3 separate regions of the Homo sapiens genome follow, and regions 1 and 2 are each linked to region 3. Evidence: promoter capture Hi-C in 16 types of primary human blood cells and fetal thymus (Javierre and others, 2016). All regions are on one chromosome and are shown on one strand. The core of a region is centred on a gene start or on the middle of the fragment in contact, and the rest is flanking DNA. Distances in the headings are between cores, read along the strand shown.

Region 1 (4,062 bases), core at 971-3,470, 98 kb before region 3:
TTCATTCCTTTTGTGCTTCAGAGCATCCTGGAGGCTGGAGGCTTGCTCCTCAGTGGCTTCAGGAGCAGAGGCCTCTCCTAGGTCCTAGGAGTCTGCCATGGGGGCTTCTTCCAGGGCTTCTTTGCCCAGGACCAAGAAAATCTTCATCGAATTGGACAGTATGAAGATCCTTGGTCCCCTTTCCTAGAACTGTTTACAGGGAAGGCTTTGAGTGAACGTGAAGATTGCAATCAGCTGATGACTAAATTAGAGGAGCAGAAAGGAGGCATTAAGTAGAGACGTTTGTGATAGGATAAGACTCTGAAACAGCAACTTCTGATGATGCTGTTCTCAGTAAATTTCCTTCTCACCTCATAGCCTTTCTATCACTCAAGTCATGAGCCTGAAGTGGGTATTGTTTCAAGGGACAGAAAAGCTTAGAGTTTTTCCAAATAGTTTTTTTAACCACATAGTGGGAACAATAGTCTTTAAAACCAATATTTTAAAAATTCCAATAGAACATTTATCTTTTTAAATAGTGGGCTTTTTGAGAAATTTCCTCATTCCTTTCCTTTCTTTTCTTGAGTTATAAAAATTCATCTTTGAAAATTCAAAGCTGACATCTGAAGGATCTCAAATACAAAGTTCATAGCATAAACAATAGTTAGTGGGGAAAATGCATGCTAGCATGAGTTAAAGTGTGACAGGCTAGTAGAATGAGAAAACTAGAAAACGGGAAGGCAGGTGACTAAAGCTTAGGAGCTGGTGGCTTTCTGAGCAGGCACCATTAGATGCCTGCCCAATAGCAGTTCTCTCTTTTTGAAACCAGTCATTGTAATCCAACTCCTTCTCTTTTTATTACCTACTTACATTTCCAGCCTCATTTGTTGCTAGGATGAATGGCCAAGAGATCCAGTTATTAGCAATGAGAACAAAGGAAAAAATGACCTGGAAAGCATTTGGGAAAGACTTTGCTCCTGATAAAAGGAAAGCCCTTTCCCCCTTGCCATTTTCTTCCTGACTTCAATGCAGTTGTGTAAGAAAGTGATGCTTGAAGCTGCACGGTTTGGAAATCATGAGATAATAAAGCAAAAAATGAAATGCAAGCACATTGAGAATGGCAGGTGTGGTAGACAGACTAATGTTCTCCAAAGATGGCCATGTTCTATCCCTGAAACCTGTGACTATGTTATGTTGCCTGGCATGGGGGAATTAAGATTGCAGATGGAATTAAGGTTGCTAATTAACTAACTTTAAAAATAAGAAATTATCTTGGATAATCCTGGTGGGTCCAGTGTAAGCACAGGGTCTTTAAATGGAAGAGGGAGGCAGAAGAAGAGGTTGGAGTCAGAGAAACGAATGTGCTACATTGCTGGACGTGAAGGTGGAAGAAGGGGCCATGAGCCATGGAATGTAGGCGATCTCTAGAAGCTGGAAAAGACAAGGAAACAGATTCTCTCATGTAGCCTCTAGAAGGCTCCAAGGCTGTTGGCACAGCCCTGACAACACCTTTGTTTTAGCCAAGTTAGACCATTTTACACTTCTAACTTCTAGAACTGTAAAACAATAAATTCATGCTGTTTTAAGTCACCACGTTTGTGGTAATTTGTAACAGCAGCAGTAGGAAATGAATACAGCCACTCAAGGGCAAAACACCTCCCAGCCCCCCATGCAGCAAGGTGTGACCATGTGTGTAAGTAACTTCCCACTCATATCCTGAAAAGAAAGCTCCTTGCTCTCAGCTTACATTTTATTTCTATAAAGTAGAAAATGGTCATGCAAATGATTGGCCTATTTCTACCTGGTAGATGTGAACAACCCTGTAGGGGTTGGCTGAAGCCACAGATAGAATAACCTGGATCCCTGAATAATAGTAAGTTGCAGAGACACATACACTCCTTGTTCACCCACCTACTGAGACTTTCACACCAAGGGGAAATAAACTCTCTGTCTTGTTTAAGTCACTGTTATTTAGCATGTACAGAAGTCTTGTAGCTAATATCCTGTATTTCTCTTGGAAACATAGAATTGAGCAGACAAAAAACTCAGCAAAAATTTAGAAGATTTGAACAATTCAATTAATAAACTGGATTTCTATACAGAATATAGAATATATATTTAATATATACAGAATATACAGAATACTGCACCCAACAACTGCTGAATACATTTTCTTTTCAAGGACGCATGGAATCTTCACCAAAACTGACCATATGCTGGGCTCTAAAGTAAGTCTCAACAAATCTCACAGGGTTGAAAATCATACACAATTTTCACAGGATTAAAATTATACAGAATGTTTGCTTACCACAATGCAATTAAGCTAGAAATTAATTACAAAATTACAAAAAGACAACTTTAAAAATATTCTTATGTTTGGAGATTATAAAATATATTTCTAAATAATCCATGTGTCCAAAAATAATTTACAATGAATATTATAAAACATTTTAAATTAAATGGTGATATCTTGAATCACCAAGAGTAGATTTTAAATGTTCTCACCACAGTGATAAGTATGTAAGGTAATGAGTATGTTAATTAGCTTGATTTAGCCATTCTACAATGTATACATATTTCAAAACATCACGTGGTACATGATGAATATATCCAATTTATTTGTCAATTTAAAGTAATTTAAATATAAATTAAAAATACTAAAATGAATAACAATTAACTCCCAATTAAAATAAGTAAATGGTAGTAAAATACTACACATTAAAATGTAAGATGTAGCTAAGGCAGTACTGAAAAGAAAACTTGTAATCTTTAGTGCATAAAAGGTGAAAATTAACAAAGAAAGCATTCATTTCAAAAGGTTAGAAAAGGCACAATAGGCTGGGTGCCGTGGCTCACGCCTGTAATCCCAGCACTTTGGGAGGCCGAGGTGGGCGGATCACGAGGTCAGGAGATCGAGACCATCCTGGCTAACATGGTGAAACCCCGTCTCTACTAAAAATACAAAAAATTAGCGGGGCGTGGTGGTGGGCGCCTGTAGTCCTAGCTACTCGGGAGGCTGAGGCAGGAGAATGGCGTGAACCCGGGAGGCGGAGCTTGCAGTGAGCCGAGATGGCGTCACTGCACTCCAGCCTGGGCGACAGAGCCAGACTCCGTCTCAAAAAAAAAAAAAAGAAAAAGAACAATAAAATATAGCAAAATACAGTAGAAGAAAGAACATATTAGAAATAAAATAAAAACAATAAAAAAAGAAAACATACAATAAAATGATAAATACAATAAAAATGTATTACATTTTTATTGTAATACAATACATAATGTATATGTGTATGTAATACAATACATAATGTAATGTGTATGTAATACAATACATACAATAAAAATGATAACAAAGCTATAGTTCTTTCAAAGACATCCAATCAATAAACCACTGGTGAGACCCTTCAAGAAAAAAAGAGAAGACACAATTAATAAGAGTGACTGTAATTTATGTCTACACCAGGGCATGTTTACACTGAGAAAGGCCACTGAATGTAATTATATACTTTTTTGAAACCTTTATTAATTAACAAATTAATTTTATTATACCAGTGAACCTATAAAATACTTTTATTCAAAAACTATTCTCAAAAATTCTTTTTTAAAAAATAAAAAGAGTATGTATAGCAAAGCAGTCACTGAATTTTTTTGACAGGTGCATTTTTTTCAACATGATCATATTATTTTTAGCACCTATATAAAATTGCCTGCAATCCTTTTTTAAAGCTGGAAGAAGCTTTGAAGGAGCTTCAAAGCTTCCTCAGCTATGATCAATTTATAGTTGGATTGGGTTGGGTTCTTTCGGAAACAGATTCTGAGATGAAGTTGACCGAGCAGTCTGTTTGAGGAATGTCTTTGGGATCAATGTGTGCGGGAGGAAAAGGAAGGAAAGGTGAGAGAGCAAAGGGCCGGATGGGCTGTGATACAACCCAATGGCAGCCTTAATCAACCCCACAGGGAACTCTGCTATTAAAATGACCTGTCAGAGTTGTCCTGTTTGTGCCACAATGTCCAGATCTTTACCCCCCCACCAGTTGTTGAATATGGACCACTGGAGGAAGAACAGGACCTTAGGCAAGGCAGCCC
Region 2 (4,123 bases), core at 190-2,689, 79 kb before region 3:
TCACTGGTCAGTGGACAGTTGAGTTGTTTTCAGTTGTTGGCTATTACAAATAAAGCTTCTATGAACATTTGCATAAAATTGTTTGCAGGAACATATGCTTTCTTTTCTTTTGGGTAAGTACATGGGAAAGAAATGATTGGGTTAGAGGGTAGGTATATGTTTAACTTCTTAAGAAGTTGCCAGACTGTTTTTCAAAGTGTTGGTATAATTTTACATTCCCACAAGCAGTGTAAGAGTTCTAGTTCCTTCAAATCCTTACCAGCAGGTTGTATGATTAGTCTTTTTAATTTTAGCCATTCTAGCAGGAGTGCAGAGGTATCTTATTGTGGTTTTAATTTTCATTTTCCTAATTACAAAGATGTTGGGCATATTTTGCTTATTTGCCATTCATGTATCCTCTTCAGTGAAATGAGTGTTTAAGCCTTTTGCCTACTTTTAAAATTGGTTTGTCTGTTTTTCTTTTATTGTGCTTTGAGAAGTCTACATATATTCCAGATAGAAGTTCTTTATTATATATGTAATTTACAAATATTTTCTCCTAGTCTCTGGCTTGTATGTTCATTCTCATAACAGTCTCTTGAAGAACAACTGTTTTATGGATGAGGTCTACTTTATCAAATTGTTCTTTTATGAAACGCGTCTGTATGTAAAGGAATTGTGTATATAAGAAGTGTGGTGTGTAAGTGTTGTATATAAGTCTTTGCTTAACTCAAGTTTATGATGAACATTTCATGTTTTCTTCTAGAGGTTTTGTGGTTTTAGGTTTTAAATTAAGGCCTATTTACTACTTTTCTACTGCAGCATAACAAATTACCAGAAATGTAGCAGCTTAAAACAATGCAAATTTATTATCTTACTGTTTCTATAGGTTAGAAATCCAGCATGGCATGACTGTATTCTTTGGGCTAAAATCAAGTTATTGGCTAAAGCTGCAGTTCTGTGTCTTTGGGTCCTCTTCCAAGCAAACTAAGGTCTTTGGCCAATTTCAGTTACTTGTGTAATTACTTCAGTAAGTAATTACATTCATTTGGCTTGATAATTTTGAAATTCATCCATCTTGTAGCATGAATCAACAGTTCCTTATTACTTCAAGAAGTAATTACACAAGTAATTGAAGTTGGCCAAAGTAATTACTTATTGAAGTAATTCAATTACTTATGGTCATACGACTGAGATCTCTGTTCCTTGCTGGCTATTAGCCAAGGGCCTTTCTCTCAGCAATTTAAGGCTGTCCGTATTTCTTCTCACATGGCCAAGCTCCATCTTCAAACAAGCAATGGTACACTGACTCTTCATGCTTTGACTCCCTCTAACTTCCATTTCTGTCTTTTTCTTCTGCTTTTAAGGACACATGTGGATTACATTGGAACCACGTGGAAATCCAGGGTAGCCTCCCTATTCTAAGTCAGCTGATTAGTAACCTTAATTACCTCTGCAAAGTCATTTTTGCTATGTAACATATTCAGTCTTGGGGATCAGGGTATAGAAACTTTTTGGTGGACGTAATTCTTCTTACCACAGTCAATGACCCTGATATGGTTTAGCTGTGTGTCCTCACCCAAATCTCATCTCGAATTTTAATCCCCATGTGTTGAGAGAGGGAAGTGACTGGATTATGAAGGCCATTTCCCCCATGCTGTTCTCGTAATAGTGAGTGAATTCTCATGACATCTGATTGTTTTATAAATGGCTATAAATGGTAGTTTTTCCTGCACTCTCACACATTCTCTCTCTCGCCTGCAACCGTGTAAGACATGCCTGCTTCCCTTTCCACCATGATTTTAAGTTTCCTGAGGCCCCAGCCATATGGAACTGTGAGTCAGTTAAACCTCTTTTCTTTATAAATTACCCAGTCCAGGGCAGTTCTTTATAGCAGTGTAAGAATGGACTAATATAGATCCATTTTGTGTTAATATTTATATATAGTGTGAAGTATGAATAGTTCATTTGTTTTCATGTGGATATGCAATTGTTCCAGCATCATTTGTTAAAAAGGCTATCTGCAATGATCTGGATGTGTCCTCCCAAAATTCAGATGTTGAAATTTAATCACAAATCTGACAGTATTGAGAGGTGGGACTTTTAGGAAGTGATTAAGTCATGAGGCAGAGATGCCATGAATGGGATTACTGCCCTTATAAAAGAGGTTGAAGGGAACAGCCTTGACCTGCCATGTGAGGATGCAGTAACAAGGTGCCACCTTGGAAAAAGAGATCATTCCCTCACCAGACACTAAATCTGATAGTGCATTGATTTTGGACTTCCCAGCCTCCAGAACTGTGAGCAATACATTTCTATTATGTATAAATTACTCAGTCTAAGGTATTTTTGTTATAGCTGCCTGAATGAACTAAGATACTTTTTCTCTACTGGATTTCCCTGTACCTTTGTCAAAAATCCTTTGTCAATGTATGTTTGGGTCTATATCTGGACTCTGTATTCTGTTCCATTTATCTGATTGTTTATTGCTATGCCAATACAACACTGTTTTGACTATCACAGCATTACAGTGTCTTGAAGTCTGGTAGAGTTAACCGCAATTTTTCTCTTATTTTTCAAAGTTGTTTGAATATTTCAGGTTTTTGCATTTCTATGTGAATTTTAGAATCAAAATATCAATTTCTATATGAATAATACTGGATTTTGAGATTGAATTGAATATATAGATTAATTTAGGGAGAATTGACATCACAACTATATGTTGTGTTTTCTTACCACCGAACAAAATATAATCTCCTTTTATTTAGATTTTCTTTTATTTATCTCAGCATTGTTTTATATTTTTCAGTGTAGAGCTCTTTCACATCTTTTGTCAGATGTATCCCAAGCTTTTCATTTTTTGGAAACATTGTATTTTAATATCAATATATGATTGTTCATTCCTAGTATATAAAAAAGGAATTTATTTTTGTTTCCGTTTCTTACTTTTCTTTCTTATTGCACTGGCCATAATCTCCTGTGCAATGTTAAATGTTGTCCTTGTCCTGTTCCTAATATTAGGGGAAAGCCTTCAGTCTTTCACCATTAAGTATAATGTTAACTCTAAGTCTTTCATAGATGGCCTTTATCAGGTTGAAGAATTTCCCTCATATTCCTAGTTTGCTAAGATTTGGATTTTTTTTCACAAAAAAACAAACAAAAAAGCCCACAAGAATCAGCTGGGCACAGTAGCTCACACCTGCAATCTCAGCACTGGGAGGCTCAGGTGGGCAGATAGCTTGAGTTCAGAAGTTTGAGACCAGCCTGAGCAACATGACAAAACCCTGTTTTTACCAAAAATACAAAAATTAGCCAGGCAAGGTGGTATGTGCCTGTGGTCCCAGCTACCTAGAAGACTGAGGTGGGAGACCCACCTGAGCCTGGGAGGTGGAGATTGTGCCAAGACCCAAGATCACACCACTGCACTCAAGCCTGGGCAACAAAGTGTAAACCCATCTCAAAAAAAAAAAAACCCACAAAAATTGATGTTGGATTTTGTCTAATGCTTTTTCTGTGCTATTGAGATGATTATATGGTTTTTGTTCTTTCTGCTGATATGATGTGTCACATTTATTGATTTGAACCATCTTTGTATCCCTGGGATAAATCCCCCTTGATCATGGTGAATAATCTTTTTAATGTGCTGCTGGATTCAGTTTGCTAGTATTTCATCCGAGATTTTTGCATACTGGTCCATCAGAGACATTGGTGTATAGTTTTCTTTTTTTGTTGTATTTTTGGTTTTGGTATCAGCGGAATGTTGACCTCATAGAATGAGTTTGGAAGTAGTTCCTCCTCTTTACTTTTAATTTTCCTTTTAACCAGGAAGAATGAGCTTGAATCTTCTTTACTTTTTGGGAATAGCTTGAGACATATTGTTATTGGCTCTTTAAATGTTTGGGCGAATAACTCAGTGAAGCCATTGGGGCCTCGGCTTTTCTTTGATGGGAGGCTTTTTATTACAGATTTAAGCTCATAACTCATAAGGGGTCTGTTCAGGTTTTCTGTTTCTTATTATTTCTATCTTGATAGGTTGTATATGTCCAGGAATTTATCTATTTCCATTCAGTTTTCTGATTTGTTGGCATATAGTTGTTTGTAATGTAATAGACAAATAATTCTTTGTATTTCTGTGATATTAGTT
Region 3 (4,273 bases), core at 1,205-3,704:
TGCTGCTTGGATACAAAAAAGGCCCAGAGGGAATAGAGAGTTAAGATTTCCACCATATTGGATTACTGGGAATTTCCAGTCTCCTGAAGGCATTTGACCACTTTCAGAAGCTTGTGGTAGTGGAAGTTGATCAACAATCCCTTTGGGGTCAAAACAATTATTCCTACCCATATGTCCTAGTGACACTCCTTGGTCCTGGCACAACTGGTTATCAAAACGCACCAGTCGCAGGCTGGGAGCAATTACTCACAATACATACATCTGGCAAAGGAGTCTAATCAAGAAAGATAATGTAATGAACTTCTACACATCAATATAATTTTTTTTTAAAAGCCAATTAGAAAAAAATAATTAGGCACTCCACAAAAGATCTGGAATGTCCAACAAGCTCATGAAAAGTGATTGATATCATTAGCCATCAGAGAAACAAATTAAAACAAGGAGATACTACTACACACTCAACAAAATGGCTAAAAGTTAAAGACTGACAATGAAAGACTGACAATACTCTGTATTGTTGAGGATTTCGAGCAACTGGCACTCTCATACTTTGCCGGTAAGAATGCAAAAACAGTGCAACTACTTTGAGAAATACTGTTTAACAGTTACTGAGTTAAATGTATGCCTACCTTCTGACTCAGCAATTCCACTACTTCTCAAGAGAAATGAAAGCATCTATCTACACAAAGACTTGTACAAGAATGTTCAGAGCAGCTTCTGCACAAAGCCAAAAACTGTAAACGTTCAAATATTCATCGGGTGTATGTTTATACAATGCAACAGATGTACTAAACGACTCTCAAAAACATTGTCTCAAAAAGGAACCTAGACAGATGCAAAAGAATATGTTCCCTATTGTCCTGTATTATTCCATTTATATTATGTTCCAACCCAAAGTCAGTCTATTGTGAAGGGTGGCTGAACAGTGGGTAACTGTTAGGAAGGAAAGACAGTACTGACAGGAAAATGTCACCTGCTCTTAGAAATGCTATCTTGATCCAGGCAGTGGCCATAGGTGTATACAAATGTAAAAGGGCACTGGATCTGTAGTTTTGTTTTGTTTTGTTTTGTTTGCGATAGGCTCACTCTGTTGCCCAAGCTGGACTGCAATGGCACGATCATAGCTCGCTGTAACCTTGAAATCTTGGGCTTAAGTGATGCTCTTGTAGTTGGGACTAAAGGCGTGCACCATCACGCCCAGCTATTTGTAAATTTGGATGGGGGTTGGGGAGCAGGTCTCGAACTCCTGTCCTCAAGCAATCCTCTCACCTTGGCCTCTCAAAGTGCTGGGATACAGGCGTGAGACAGGATTCTTGAAGATCTGTGGTTCAGCCAGTATTCTTGAAAATTTGTGCATTGTACTCTGTGTAAATCTTACTATAGCAAAGTATTTAATATTAAAAGGTTAAAATAAAAAGCACTACCAATCACCTACAGAAGAAGGAACAAGATTTCTAGAACAGCCACTGACTGACTGGGTGAACGGTGGTGTCACACCATATGCTGAGGAGCACAAAGTAACACACTCTATCTCTGCTTTTTTGCTTTGAATAAAATGCAGGAGCCAGAGAAAACACTAATCAAGCCACTCCCTGCTGAAAATTCATTGCTGGAATTACGGAACCTAGATTGTTCAGAGGCCCTGACGTCTGAGCCAGGCGCTGAGCTCAGTGCCTTTACACTCATTACTTCATAACCTTAACAAGCCCATGAGTTAAGACCAAACCTGCCTTTGGATTGGGAAACCCAGGGTCAAAAAAGCACTTTTCTCAGGATGAGAGAAAGCATACTTATCAATACATCTTGTATTCATCCATGCAGGACATTACAGCGCTATGCGCCTCAAAGACACTGGGTAGATGTCTGCAGAATGGACGAGGGGAAGACACGCAAATTTCTGAATGACTGACACTCATTAGTCCTGAACCTCATGCTAAAGGCGACCTCGAGGGGAAGAGGCAGTCCTTCTATTAATACTAAGTCAGTAATAACCTCCCTACTTCTTCTTCTCTCCTTACAACACAAGGCGTTGTAAGCCCATGTGTCCAAACGAAGGGAAAGAGTAGTCATTCACTCCGCGGGGCAGCGTCTTTCAACCCCAACGGAGACCGCACGCGCAGCGCCCCACATTACGCACGCGCCCTGGCTCGGCTCCGCCCCGCCAAGTCCCGTTTCGCGACGCGCACGCGCAGCCTGGGAGCGCGACTGCGTACCTGCGCAAAGCTGGAAGCGGACGCTTTTTTCTTCTTACTGGCGCCATAGCCCCCGCCGCTGCTGCCATTGTGGGAAGGGCTGGCCGGCCTCTTCTTGCTGTTCCGGACTATTCCGGGAGTGGAAGTGGTGGCCACAATTGGAATTTGCGCCGCCATCGCACTCCGAGTCTTCCCCTGGTCCCCCCACCTTTTTCCCAGCGCGGGCCTTGGAACTTCCTTTCCGCTGTTACTTCCGTCTTGATGCTTGAAAACCCGGCCTGGACTCCAAGCTGTAGCTGGCTTCTCTCGGTGCAATCTAAAAGGCGGAGCTCGGAGTAGCCTGTGCCGTCGGGACGGGAAGATGTCAGCGGGCGTTGTCCTGCCACTCGGGCGCTCTGGGCGTGGGCCTTGGGTGGGGCACGTGCCTGGAAATCCCCATTGATAGAGGAATAGAAAATCTCCCAATCTTTTTAAGTAACTACGTTTTAAAAAATTAATGAGCGTGTTGTCTTTTCTCATATAGAAGAGTGATTACTTTTGATGTCTGTAAGCCTAAAGCTGGGGTCGTTCTCAGTAGACCGCCAAGCTACTGGCTTCTCCCTCTATCCCTCCCTGCCTTCCCACGCGGAAAAGGTTTGTATATAAATAGCGCCCAAATGGACATGAAGGGTAGAGTGGTTCTTAATCTCTCCCTTTTTTTTTTTCTTTTATTTGAGACGGAGTTTCGCTCTTGTTGTCCAGGCTGGAGTGCAATGGCGCGATCTCGGCTCACTGCAAACTCCGCCTCCCGGGTTCAAGCGATTCTCCTGCCTCAGCCTCCCGAGTAGCTGGGATCACAGGCATGTGCCACCATGCCCGGCTAATTTTGTATTTTTAGTAGAGACGGGGTTTCTCCATGTTGGTCAGGCTGGTCTCGAGCTCCCGACCTCAGGTGATCTGCCCGCCTCGGCCTCCCTAAGTGCTGGGATTACAGGCGTAAGCCACCACGCCCGGCCGGTTCTTAATCTCTTAGGATTCACAGACTCTTGAGCATGGAATCTGTGCTTCCTATCCCTGCCGCACACCCCCACCTCCCCACCACCCCATTAAATGTATACAGACACAGACAAAATTTTACAGATTTCAGGGAGGTCACAGATCTACTAAAACCTATTTAGGAACCTGAGTCCCCCTACCCGCCTTGTTCTTTGCCTCATTCTACCCTATATTTTTACAGAACCTTTGCGACATCATATAACTAAATGATTTATAATCGGATGGTTAATGTCTTTTTTGGCTCCTGCTAGAATGTAATCTGTATGAGGGAAGGGTCAGTTATGTCTTGTTAACTTATCAGTCCCCCCAATCACAGTACCTTGCAAGTCATTGGTGCATTATAAGTATTTTTAATGATGTATTTAACGAATGAACTAACTCCCTGCAGTGATTGGTGGAAGCTACTATGTTTGAATACAGGAAGTTGATGTATATGAGTCTTGATATTTGAAATAAACAGGCTGCACAATGACTTAGAGGTGAGAGAGAAGGAGCAGTTAGGGAAACTTGCAATATTGTTACTGACATATTTTTTCCTTTAGAGAAAGGAATAAGCCTACCAGTGTTGAAATGTTCTTTCCCACACCCCATCTCCATCCCTATCCTCATCTAAAGCTAGTCTTTTCCTCATTCCTTAACTCAAGGACTCACCTCCAACAAGCCAGTCACCTAAGCAAACTCTACTGTCCCCACCTCCTCCCATTCCTCACCTCCTCAGCTCGCTTCTCTCCTTCACGGCTCCTGCCCTGGTGAATCTGTATCCCATGTCTACATCTCAGCAACAGCCTCCAGATGGACGTTTCGGCCGCCATCTTTCCCTTATCCATTCCTGACCCCAGACCATCCTTCACACTGGCTGCCAGAATGGGATTTCTAAATTACAAATATAATCATACCACTTACTTTCTTACATTCTTCAGGGCCCTTTTGCCTTCAGGGTAAAATTTTTTTTTTACCTTCAGGGTAAGAACGTTTTGGCTTGTCATACAAGGTCCTTAATGACTGGGCTCTGGGCCGGGCGCGGTGGCTCACACCTGTAATCCCAA

What was found. Contacts are between HindIII fragments. The CHiCAGO score rates a contact against its expected background, and 5 or more counts as called.
Region 1: a contact is called between a fragment that was not itself captured here and the fragment with the promoter of INO80C in region 3, in 1 of 17 cell types (M2 macrophages). The highest score is 6.2, in M2 macrophages.
Region 2: a fragment that was not itself captured here is called in contact with the fragment with the promoter of INO80C in region 3 in 1 of 17 cell types (M2 macrophages); the score reaches 6.3 in M2 macrophages.

The regions. Positions count from the first base shown.
Region 1 is chr18:35,398,223-35,402,284 of GRCh38, forward strand. All of the region lies in intron 2 of LOC105372063 (a long non-coding RNA gene), which reads right to left. Among named protein-coding and RNA genes, the nearest start is that of ZNF396, 23 kb to the left of the region's middle. The HindIII fragment of the contact is 2,979 bases long and covers 732-3,710 here.
Region 2 is chr18:35,417,450-35,421,572 of GRCh38, forward strand. No RefSeq gene overlaps it. Among named protein-coding and RNA genes, the nearest start is that of ZNF396, 42 kb to the left of the region's middle. The HindIII fragment of the contact is 2,773 bases long and covers 54-2,826 here.
Region 3 is chr18:35,495,506-35,499,778 of GRCh38, forward strand. INO80C (INO80 complex subunit C) reads right to left here and starts at 2,455. Exons shown (of 5, transcript NM_194281.4): 1 at 2,214-2,455. The coding sequence starts at 2,369. RefSeq lists enhancers at 1,473-1,622, 1,893-2,012, 2,363-2,632. The HindIII fragment of the contact is 4,638 bases long and covers 109-4,273 here.